Linked DNA regions of Homo sapiens: region 2 is linked to region 1. Evidence: promoter capture Hi-C in human tissues and cell types (Jung and others, 2019). All regions are on one chromosome and are shown on one strand. Each heading gives the region's core, a stretch centred on a gene start or on the middle of the fragment in contact. The rest is flanking DNA. Distances are from core to core; before and after follow the strand shown.

What was found. Contacts are between HindIII fragments. The study calls those that stand out against the background at their distance.
Region 2: a contact is called between a fragment that was not itself captured here and the fragment with the promoter of NINL in region 1, in 2 of the 25 tissues and cell types used here (H1 embryonic stem cells and ovary).

What each region holds. Positions count from the first base shown.
Region 1 is chr20:25,583,883-25,588,932 of GRCh38, forward strand. It overlaps NINL (ninein like), which reads right to left and starts at 1,649. Exons shown (of 24, transcript NM_025176.6): 1 at 1,573-1,649. RefSeq lists a silencer at 1,584-1,713. The HindIII fragment of the contact is 43,094 bases long and covers 1-5,050 here.
Region 2 is chr20:25,448,345-25,452,815 of GRCh38, forward strand. GINS1 (GINS complex subunit 1) reads left to right here. Exons shown (of 7, transcript NM_021067.5): 7 at 1-219. It overlaps NINL (ninein like), which reads right to left. Exons shown (of 24, transcript NM_025176.6): 24 at 4,353-4,471. Among named protein-coding and RNA genes, the nearest start is that of GINS1, 43 kb to the left of the region's middle. The HindIII fragment of the contact is 3,339 bases long and covers 36-3,374 here.

The DNA.
Region 1 (5,050 bases), core at 399-2,898:
CAAACACCGCATGTTCTCACTCATAAGTGGGAGTTGACAATGAGAACACATGGACACAGGGAGGGGAACATCACACACCTCACACATCGGGACCTGTCGGGGCGGGTGGGGGGCAAGAGGAGGGAGAGCATTAGGACAAATACCTAATGTATGTGGGGCTTAAAATCTAGATGACGGGTTGATAGGTGCAGCAAACCATCATGGCACATGTATACCCATGTAACAAACCAGAACGTTCTGCACATGTATCCCAGAACTTAAAGTAAAATAAAATTAAAAAACAAAAACAAAACAAAACAAAAACTTGGCCGGGTGCAGTGGCTCACGCCTGTAATCCCAGAACTTTGGGAGGCCGAGGCAGCTGGATCACCTGAAGGTCAGAAGTTCGAGACCAGCCTGGCCAACATGGTGAAACCCCCATCTCCACTAAAAACACAAAAAATTAGCTGGGCGTGTAATCCCAGCTACTCGGGAGGCTGAGGCAGGAGAATCGCTTGAATCCGGGAGGCAGAGGTTGCAGTGAGCCGAGATGGCGCCATTGCACTCCAGCCTGGGCAACAAGAGTGAAACTTCGTTTCAAAAACAGCAACAACAACAAGAACAACAACAAGAAGAACAAAAACTCTGCTTTTAAAAGTATTTTAAGTCCAGTGTGAAAAACCTAGAAGTCACAGCAAAGGCCGCTAAGAAACTTACCATTACTCATGACCCCTCTTACTACTGACCTTGAAAATCACTTGCCCTTCTCCAAGGCCCCGCCAGCTTCATGGGTCTCTTCCTGAACCTCCTCCCTAGTTCCAGGGCTTGGCCTAAGTCTCACAGAGCAGAAAGAAACGTGGCCACCCTTCCTCACGTGAGTCCTGTGCAAACATACAGCCCCACACAGAGCTCCTAACAATGGGGCATCAGTACCCAGGCACGATCGATGATTATGAACCCAACGCGATCAGAGACTCCCACATGGTGTGTGTGACTGCGCGCACAGGCGGGAGGAAAGGGGCGAATCTGCAAAACGAGTACAACAGATAAAATTCGCAACAGACTTCTACACCCTTTCAATCAACCGTCCCAAGCGCCACGAACGCGGGTCCCGCTCCGTGGGGGGCCGCAGCCACACTGGCAGGAGGGAATCCTGGGCCTCGACCAGACGCCGGCGGCGTCAGGAGAAACGGCCCGCGCTGGGCAGGCGGCGGGCACCGCGTAGCTCATTACCACGGGGGGCCCCGGCCAAGGCCGCCCGCCTCAGGCCGAGCCTTGGGGCTGTGCTGGACCCGGGCCCTCGTTCGCACGGCGCCCGCGCCGCCGCCGTCGGGAAACCGGGTTTTCAAGCGTTCGGCCCAGCGGGCGCTGTATTTTAGGGCGTGACCCCCGCCCCGCCCTCGAGGGCGACCGGAAGAGCAGGCACCACAGCAGATGCGCCGAGTCTGCGCCCCGCACCGCGAGGAGCACCCGAGGCCGCGCTCCCGGAGCCGGGTCTGGTGACTAAGGCGCGGGTCGCGACGCAGGGGCGGCCCCGGACTCTCGACCCCACCAGCCGCCTGAATGTCCCGCCGGACGCCCGGGCCGGCTCACCTGGGAGGCGCCTCCGCCGTCCGCCCGCGCGGGGCCAGGAGCGCGGCACCACCCCCGTACCGCCGGCCGCTCTTTGTGTCTGGAGGCCGCGACGCAACACTCCTCCCGGCCTCGAGGCACCGCCCCCTCGGTGTCCCGGCGCAGTGGGCGAACAGGGGGCGGGGCGAGCGAACGGGAGAGGGGGCGGGTCGGGTCCGGGATTGCGGGGCGGGGTGGGGGCAAGGCGGCCTCCGCAAATCTCAGGGCGGCTCTGGCCAGTTTGGAGCCTGGGGTGACCCTTGGAGCTGACCTCGCTGGTCCCTGTCGGAGCCCTGCGCGCTGCGGAGCTTGGCGGTTCGCAGCTCTCGGGGTAGCATCTTCTGGAAACAAGCCCGGAGGCCGGCCAGGCAGGGGTAATACCCCAAACCCACCACTGAGGAAACCGCGACTTAAAACCTAGGTCGTCACGTTTCCACCGCATATTAAATCAATACGGGTTGAGCATCCCTAATCCAAACATCTGAAATCCGAAATGCTTCAAAATCTGAAAGTTTTTGAGCGCTGACCTGATGCTCAAAGGAAATGCACATTGGAGCACTTCTTTTTTCTTCTTTTAACTTTCTTTTCTTTTGAGAAAGGCTGTCACTTCTGCTGCCCAGCCTGGGATGCAGTGGCGCGGTCATGGCTCACTACAGCCTCGACTTTCCCGGCTATGGCGATCCTCCCGCCTCAGCGTCCCAACCCCCAGTAGCTGGGACTGCAGGCATCTGCCACCATGTCCGCTAATTTTTGTATTTTTAGCACAGAGTCTCACTGTGTTGCCCAGGCTGGTCTCGAACTCCTAGGCTCAAGGGATGGATCCACCGCCTCGGCCTCCCAAAGTGCTGGGATTACAGGCGTGAGCCACCGCGCCCGGCCTGTATTTTTTTAAGAGAGGAGGCTTCACCATGTTGCCCAGGCTGGTCTGGAATTTCTGGCCTCAAGTGATCCTCCCACCTTGGCCTCCCATAGTGCTGGGATTACTGGCATGAGCCACCGCACCTGGCCTCATTGGAGCATTTCTAATTTTGGATTTTCAGATTAGGGGTGTTCAATTGGTATAATGCAAATATTCCAAAATCTGAAATCCTAAATGCTTCTGGTGCCAAGCATCTCGGTTAAGGGATATTCAACCTGTATATATTTATCGAACACCTACTAGGGCCAGGCATTGTCCTAGGGGCTGCCAACAGCGGTGCAAAAAATCCCTGGCCCTTATAGAGTTTACACAGAAAACAATTTAAAAACGTAAATACCCGGCCGGGCATAGTGGCTCATGCCTGTCATCCCAGCACTTTGGGGGGCTGAGGCAGGCGGATCACCTGAGGTCGGGAGTTCAAGACCAGCCTGACCAACATGGAGAAACCCCGTCTCTACTAAAAATACAAAATTAGCCGGGCGTGATGGCATATGCCTGTAATCCCAGCTACTCAGGAGGCTGAGACAGGAGAATCGCTTGAATCTGGGAGGCGGAGGTTGTGGTTATCAAGCCACTGCACTCCAGCTTGGGCGACAGAGTGAGACTCCATTTCAAAAAAAGAAAAAAAAAAGTAAATACAGCCAGGCACGGTGACTCATGCCTGTAATCCCAGTAGTTTGGGAGGCCACTGTGGGCAGATTGCCTGAGGACAGGAGTTCGAGACCAGCGTGGCCAACATGGTGAAACCCAGTGTCTACTGAAACACAAAAAAATTAGCCAGTTGTGGTTAACGCGCGCCTGTAGTCCCAGCTACTCGTGAGGCTGAGGCACAAGAATTGCATGAACCCAGGAGTCGGAGGTTGCAGTGAGCTGAGATCTTGCCACTAGACTCCAGCTTGGGCGACAGAGCAAGACTCTGTCTCCAAAAAATAAAAATAAAAACATAAATATACAAAAATGTCAGAGAGTTATATCAGAATTACAAAATGAGCTACAGTACACTGTAGCATGAGAAAGGTGCATATACTTTGTAGGAACTCCACTTTAGAGGATGTGAGGATCAGAGGCAAAATGGGGTGAGAAGGAAGCAGGATGAAAGACAGGCTATGGGGGAACGGAGTTTCCAAGGGCGAGTGAAATTTCCAAGTGCCTGCAAGTGCTAAACCCCATGCAGAGCAAAAGGCAAACACAGGGAGTGGTTCAGAGACGCTCATAGTGTGTTCTAGGCTGGGAGGTTTCTCTGACCTGCTGAATGTGCCCAGATACCTTTTGCTATGCCCATGACCTGTCCCAACCAGTGTGGGGCACAATGGCAGGACACACCGTGCAAAGGTGGTCCCTGTGGGATGCGCAGCCAAGACCCCGATGACTCCAGTTTATAACCCTGGATTCCCAGGGGTGCTCAGAGCCATGGGGGCTGCCATTGTGAAGAATGTCTTCTCTTCAGTGCTCCTGATGCTCTGCACGGGCTCCCACTCACTGGCTGGAGAATGAATTTGGAGTCAGAAGATGTGAATCATGCCACTTACTAGCTGTTTGACTGTGGATCACCCAGTCATGTAACATCTGTGATCTCAGTTTCATTTGCAAAATAGAAATGTAAAAATTACCCATTGCACAGGAGTGTACTGAATTTATTTGTTATTTTATTTCTTGAGACAGGATCTCAGTCTGTTACCCAGGCTGGAGTGTGGTGGTGTGATCACAGCTCACTGCAGCCTTGATCTCCTGGGCTCAAGTGATCCTCCCACCTCAGCCTCCCAAATAGCTGCATTACAGATGCACCCCCACACCTGGCTAACTTACTAATTTTTTGTAGAGATGGGGTCTATGTTGCCCAGGCTGGTCTTGAACTCCTGGGCTAAAATGATCCTCCCACTTTGGCCCCCCAAAGTACTGAGATTGCAGGCATGAGGCACCGTGCCCAGTTGAGCATACCGAATTTAAATGAGTTAATGTAGTGGTTCTTCATCAGAGAGAAGTGGGAAGACTAGGAGTTCTCCACTTTGACTACTTAAAAATTAAAAACACCAGTGCCTGCATCCTACCTCCAGACATTCCAATTTTATTGTCGTGTAGAGAAAACTCTCCACTCTCACACCGCACAACAGTCAACACAGAAGACCTATGACTAAATGTGTGTGGGGTTTTCTCCACACACTGAGCAGCAGACACCAGCTGGGCATCCTCTAATTCAGTTCTGTCACTACCTGGAGAGAGTGTCAGATCCCACAAGTTGAGGACTCAGTCCCCAAGACTCCTCACATACATCAGTTGCAAGGCCGGGCCTCTGCAGAACTTCTGACAGATCAGCTTCAAGTTGGGGTTCCCATGACCCCCTGACCCCCTGTTTGGTTTCGATTAATTTGCTACCTGTGAGTGGCTCACAGAACTCAGAGAAACGCTTATGTTCACTGGTTTATTTTTATTTATTTATTTTTGAGACGGAGTGTTGCTCTGTCGCCCAGGCTAGAGTGCAGTGGTGCGATCCCAGCTCACTGCAACCTCCGCCTACCAGGTTCAAGTGATTGTCATGCCTCA
Region 2 (4,471 bases), core at 455-2,954, 140 kb before region 1:
AGTGTACAGGTCTACCATGTCAGCATTTCATAGTTTTGATGCTAAATGGTATTTTAAAATTTCAAATTCTAACCACTTGTTGCTAGTAAATAGAAATACAATTGATGTTGAACTTGTATCCTTCAGCCTTGCTAAACTGTGAGTTCTCATGGTGTTTTTGTAAATTACATCAACAGTCATGTGTTCTATGAATAAAGAGTTTTACTCCTTCCTTTCTAATCTGAATGCCTTTTATTTCTTTTTCTTGCCTGATGGCATTGGTTAGAACTTCCAGTAGAGTACTAAATATATGTGGTCAAAGACACCCCTATCTTGTTCCTGATCTAAGAAGGAAAACAGTCTTTCACTATTATGATGTTTGTTAGCTCTTAAGTTGTTTGTAGATGCCCTTTATTGGGGTAGGAAGTTCCTTCCTATTCCTAGTGATATGGTTTGGCTGTGTCCCTACCCAAATCTCAACTTGAACTGTAATAATTCCCATGTGTCAAGGGCAGGGCCAGGTGAAATAATTGAATCAAGGGGGTAGTTTTCCCCATACTTTTCTGGTGTTAGTCAATAAGTCTCACGAGATCTGATGGTTTTATAAATGGGAGTTCCCCTGGACATGCTCTTTTGCCTGCCACCATGTAAGACGTGACTTTGGTCCCTATCCATTTGCCTTATGCTGTGATTGTGAGGCCTCCCCAGCCATGTGGAACTGTCAATTAAATCTCTTTCCTTTATAAATTACCCACTCTCCAGTATGTCTTTATTAGCAGCATAAGACGACTAATACACCTAGTTTACTGAGAATTTTTTTAAAAGTCAGAAATGGATGCTGGATTTTGTCATATCTTTTTTCTGCATCTGTTGAGATGGTTTTGTCTTTTAGTTTGTTAGTCTGGTGAATTACAGTGGCTGATTGATCGATTGAGTTTTCAATGTTAAACCTACCCTGGATTCCTGGCATAAACCACACCTGGTCATGATATATTCTCCTTTTTGTAAGATTTTATTTGAAATTTTTTTGTAGAATTTTTGCATCAGTGTGCATGAGAAATACTGGTCTGGTGTTCTTGGGAAAATAATCCCTCCTATTCAGTTTTTTGGAAGAGTTTTCTAAATAGAAAAAAAAAACTGTTCTGTCACTTAACAACAACAACACAGAAGACTGTGACCAAATGCATGGGGGTTTTTCCCACATACCAAGCTCTGCAGTGGAGAGCAGGTGTGTCCTCTACTTCTATTTCAGTTCCGACACTACCTGGAGATAGCGTCAGATCCCACAGGGTCAGGGCTCAGTCCAAGACTGCCCTCCCTTGAGACACCAGCCACAAGTGTGGGCCTCTGAGATTCTGACCAACTAGCTTCAAGTTGGAGTTCCCATGCCCCACTCTTTGGATTCAATTAATTTGCTTGAGCAGCTCACAGAACTCAGAAACACTTAAGCTTACTGGTTTATTGTAAAGGATATGGTAAAATACGCAGATGAAAGGACCCAAATGGAAGCGATGCATAGGGTAAGGTATGGGGAAAGGATATGGAGCTTCGATGCTCACCACCCTCCAGGAGCCTCCATATGTTCAGCAATCCGGAAGCTCTCCACACCCTGTCCTTTTGGGCCTTTTATAGAAATCTCATTAGATAGGCATTATCAACAACCAAGCAGAGAGACGATTGGACTAAGAGGGTATGATCTAATGCTCACAGTCTGAGTGGCGCCATTCAGCCAGGCCCGTCTGCTCTGGTTCTTAGCCTCTGCTGCATTTCTTCTTTCAGAGTATGAGGCAGTGCCCCTTCTGATCACAGAGAATTTCTTTATGGCCAGCTCCAAGACAGAAAGGCGGGAAAAGGAGCAGGTGAAAGGAGGGCAGAAGGGCAGAAAGAGAATGTCTTCTGAGGCCTAAAATGCCCAAGCATTACAAGACTGCAACGAAGGCCATGGGAGTTAGTTACAGACAAGGAGCCATGGATGAAATCAATATATCTATCATACGTTTTATATACTTGGTATTATTTATTTCTTAAATGTTTATAGAGTTCATATTTAAGCCATCTAGGCCCGAAGTTTCTTTGTGGGAAGCTTAACCACAGTTTTGGCTTAATAAATACATGGCTATTTTGGTTATCCATTTTTTTTCTCGAATGAGCTTTGGCAATTTATGTATTCTCCATTTTATCTAAGTTACCAAATTTATTTATATAAAGTTGTTCATGGGCTGGGCACGGTGGCTCACGCCTGCAATCCCAGCACTTTGGGAGGCCAAGTCAGAAGGATCGCTTGAGCTCAGGAGTTTGAGACCAGCCCGGGCAACATAGCGAGACGTCAGGAAAAAAAAAAAATTGCCAGGTGTGGTGCTGTGCACCTGTAGTCTCAGCTACTCGGGAGGCTGAAGCGGGAGTTGGAGGCTGCAGTGAGCTATAATCATGCCACTGCACTCCAGCCTGGGCAACAGTGAGACCCTGTCTCAAAAAATAAAAATGTTCTTCATAATATTGCCTTATGATGCTTGTATATCTGTAGACTATAGTGGTATTACCTGTAGTGATATCACTTCTCATTTTTGGTATTAGTTTTTCTTTTCTTTTATTCTGACTGGACTAGAAGTTTATCAGTTTTACTAATCTTCTGAAAGAACATGTCTTTGGTTTACTTTCTCTATTCTTTGTTTTCTATTTCAAGGGTCAACAAATGTTTTCTGTGTATTAGGCTTTGTGGGCCACATGACCTGTTAACAGCCGCTCCGTGCTGCTGCTGGAGCACGAAGCAGGCGTAGGGAATCTGTGGACGTAGGGAATCTGTAACTGAGTGTGGCCGTGCCAACCAAACTTAACACAGCAGCTCTAGCCTGCAGCATGGCACAGCCAATCTGTTCCGTTCCTTGGTTTCTGCTGTGATCATCATCATTTTCTTTTCTTTTGACTTTAGGTTTAATTTGCTCTTCTTTGTCTAATTATTTAAGGTAGAAGCTCAAGTCGTTGATTTGAGACCTTTCTTCTAACCTGGGTGTTTGGTGCTAAGACTTTTCCCCTAAGTAATGCTTTCACTCTACCCCACAAATTTTGATATATTGTGTTTTCATTTCCATTCAATCCAGGATATTTCCCAACTTCCCCTCTTATCTCTTCTTTGCCTCATGCGTTATTCAGCAGTATGTTGTTCAGTTTCCAAATATTGGGGGATATATATATATTTTTTTTCAGGGCACAGGTAATTATTTATTTATTTCACTTTACCTCATTTTTTATTTTTTTATTATACTTTAAGTTCTAGGGTACATGTGCACAATGTGCAGTTTTGTTACATATGTATCCATGTGCCACGTTGGTGTGCTGCACCCATTAACTCATCATTTACATTAGGTATAGCTCCTAATGCTATCCCTCCCCCCTCCCCCTACCCCAGGACAGGCCCCGGTGTGTGATGTTCCCCTTCCTGTGTCCAAGTGTTCTCATTTTTCAATTCCCACCTATGAGTGAGAACATGCGGTGTTTGGTTTTCTGTCCTTGTGACAGTTTGCTGAGAATGATGGTTTCCAGCTTCGTATTGGGGGACAGATTTCTAATTTAGTTCCATTGTGGTCACAGTACATACATTGTATGGCTTGAATCTTCGTAATTTTTTGAGATTTGTTGGCCCAAGATATGGTCTGTCTTGGTAAGTGTTTGGCTGCATTTGCTTCTACTGGTGTCGTGTGGTGGGTTCTAGATGTCAGTAGATTGATAATGTTGTTCAGGTCTCCTGGTTACTCCAATCTCGTTACTCCAGTCTCAGACAGAAGCCCAAAGTGAATGAAGAAGTGTACTCCTCAATGAGTTTTGACAAATGCATACACCCATGTAACATAAACTGTATTAGGACTTACATATTAATAACTGGTAGAACTAGTCCCCATACATTGCTCTTCTTTCTTCAGAGTTTTCCTAATTGTTTTGTTTGCTTATTTAGTTGTATGTAAAAACTTTAGAATGTCTTGTCCAATTCTGGGGTTGATTGGGGCATGTAACATCTGTATTTATATTGGGATTAATTACATTTATCATCAGTAAACTTTGAAGAACCAGTCAACTTCATGTTGCCGAATCTTCCAAAGAACCGACCTTTCCATCTGTTCCAGGCTTTGTTATCTTTCCACGGTGCTGTGACATTTTTCTCCTGCAGAAAGGAGAAGACATGCCAGCTTTGGGATGGCGGCTGCCCCGGGAAGAGGGAGGAGGCTGAGAACAGAACAGGCTCCCGCCCTCCACAGTGCTGTGGCAGGATATTATTCTTACTAGATATGTTGATGGGCACATGGGTGTTTCTTACATAACTATTTTCCTCTATGTTTGAAATATTTTATAGTTTAAAAAATTAAAAACAAACTTAGAAGTCAATTTTAATAGAAAAGAATTTATTGCAAATACAGTGACTTTTTATATTACAGTAGTACATTCCAATCAGCCATATGGCCATAATTTGCATACATTTCAAATATAAAACTATACTTTT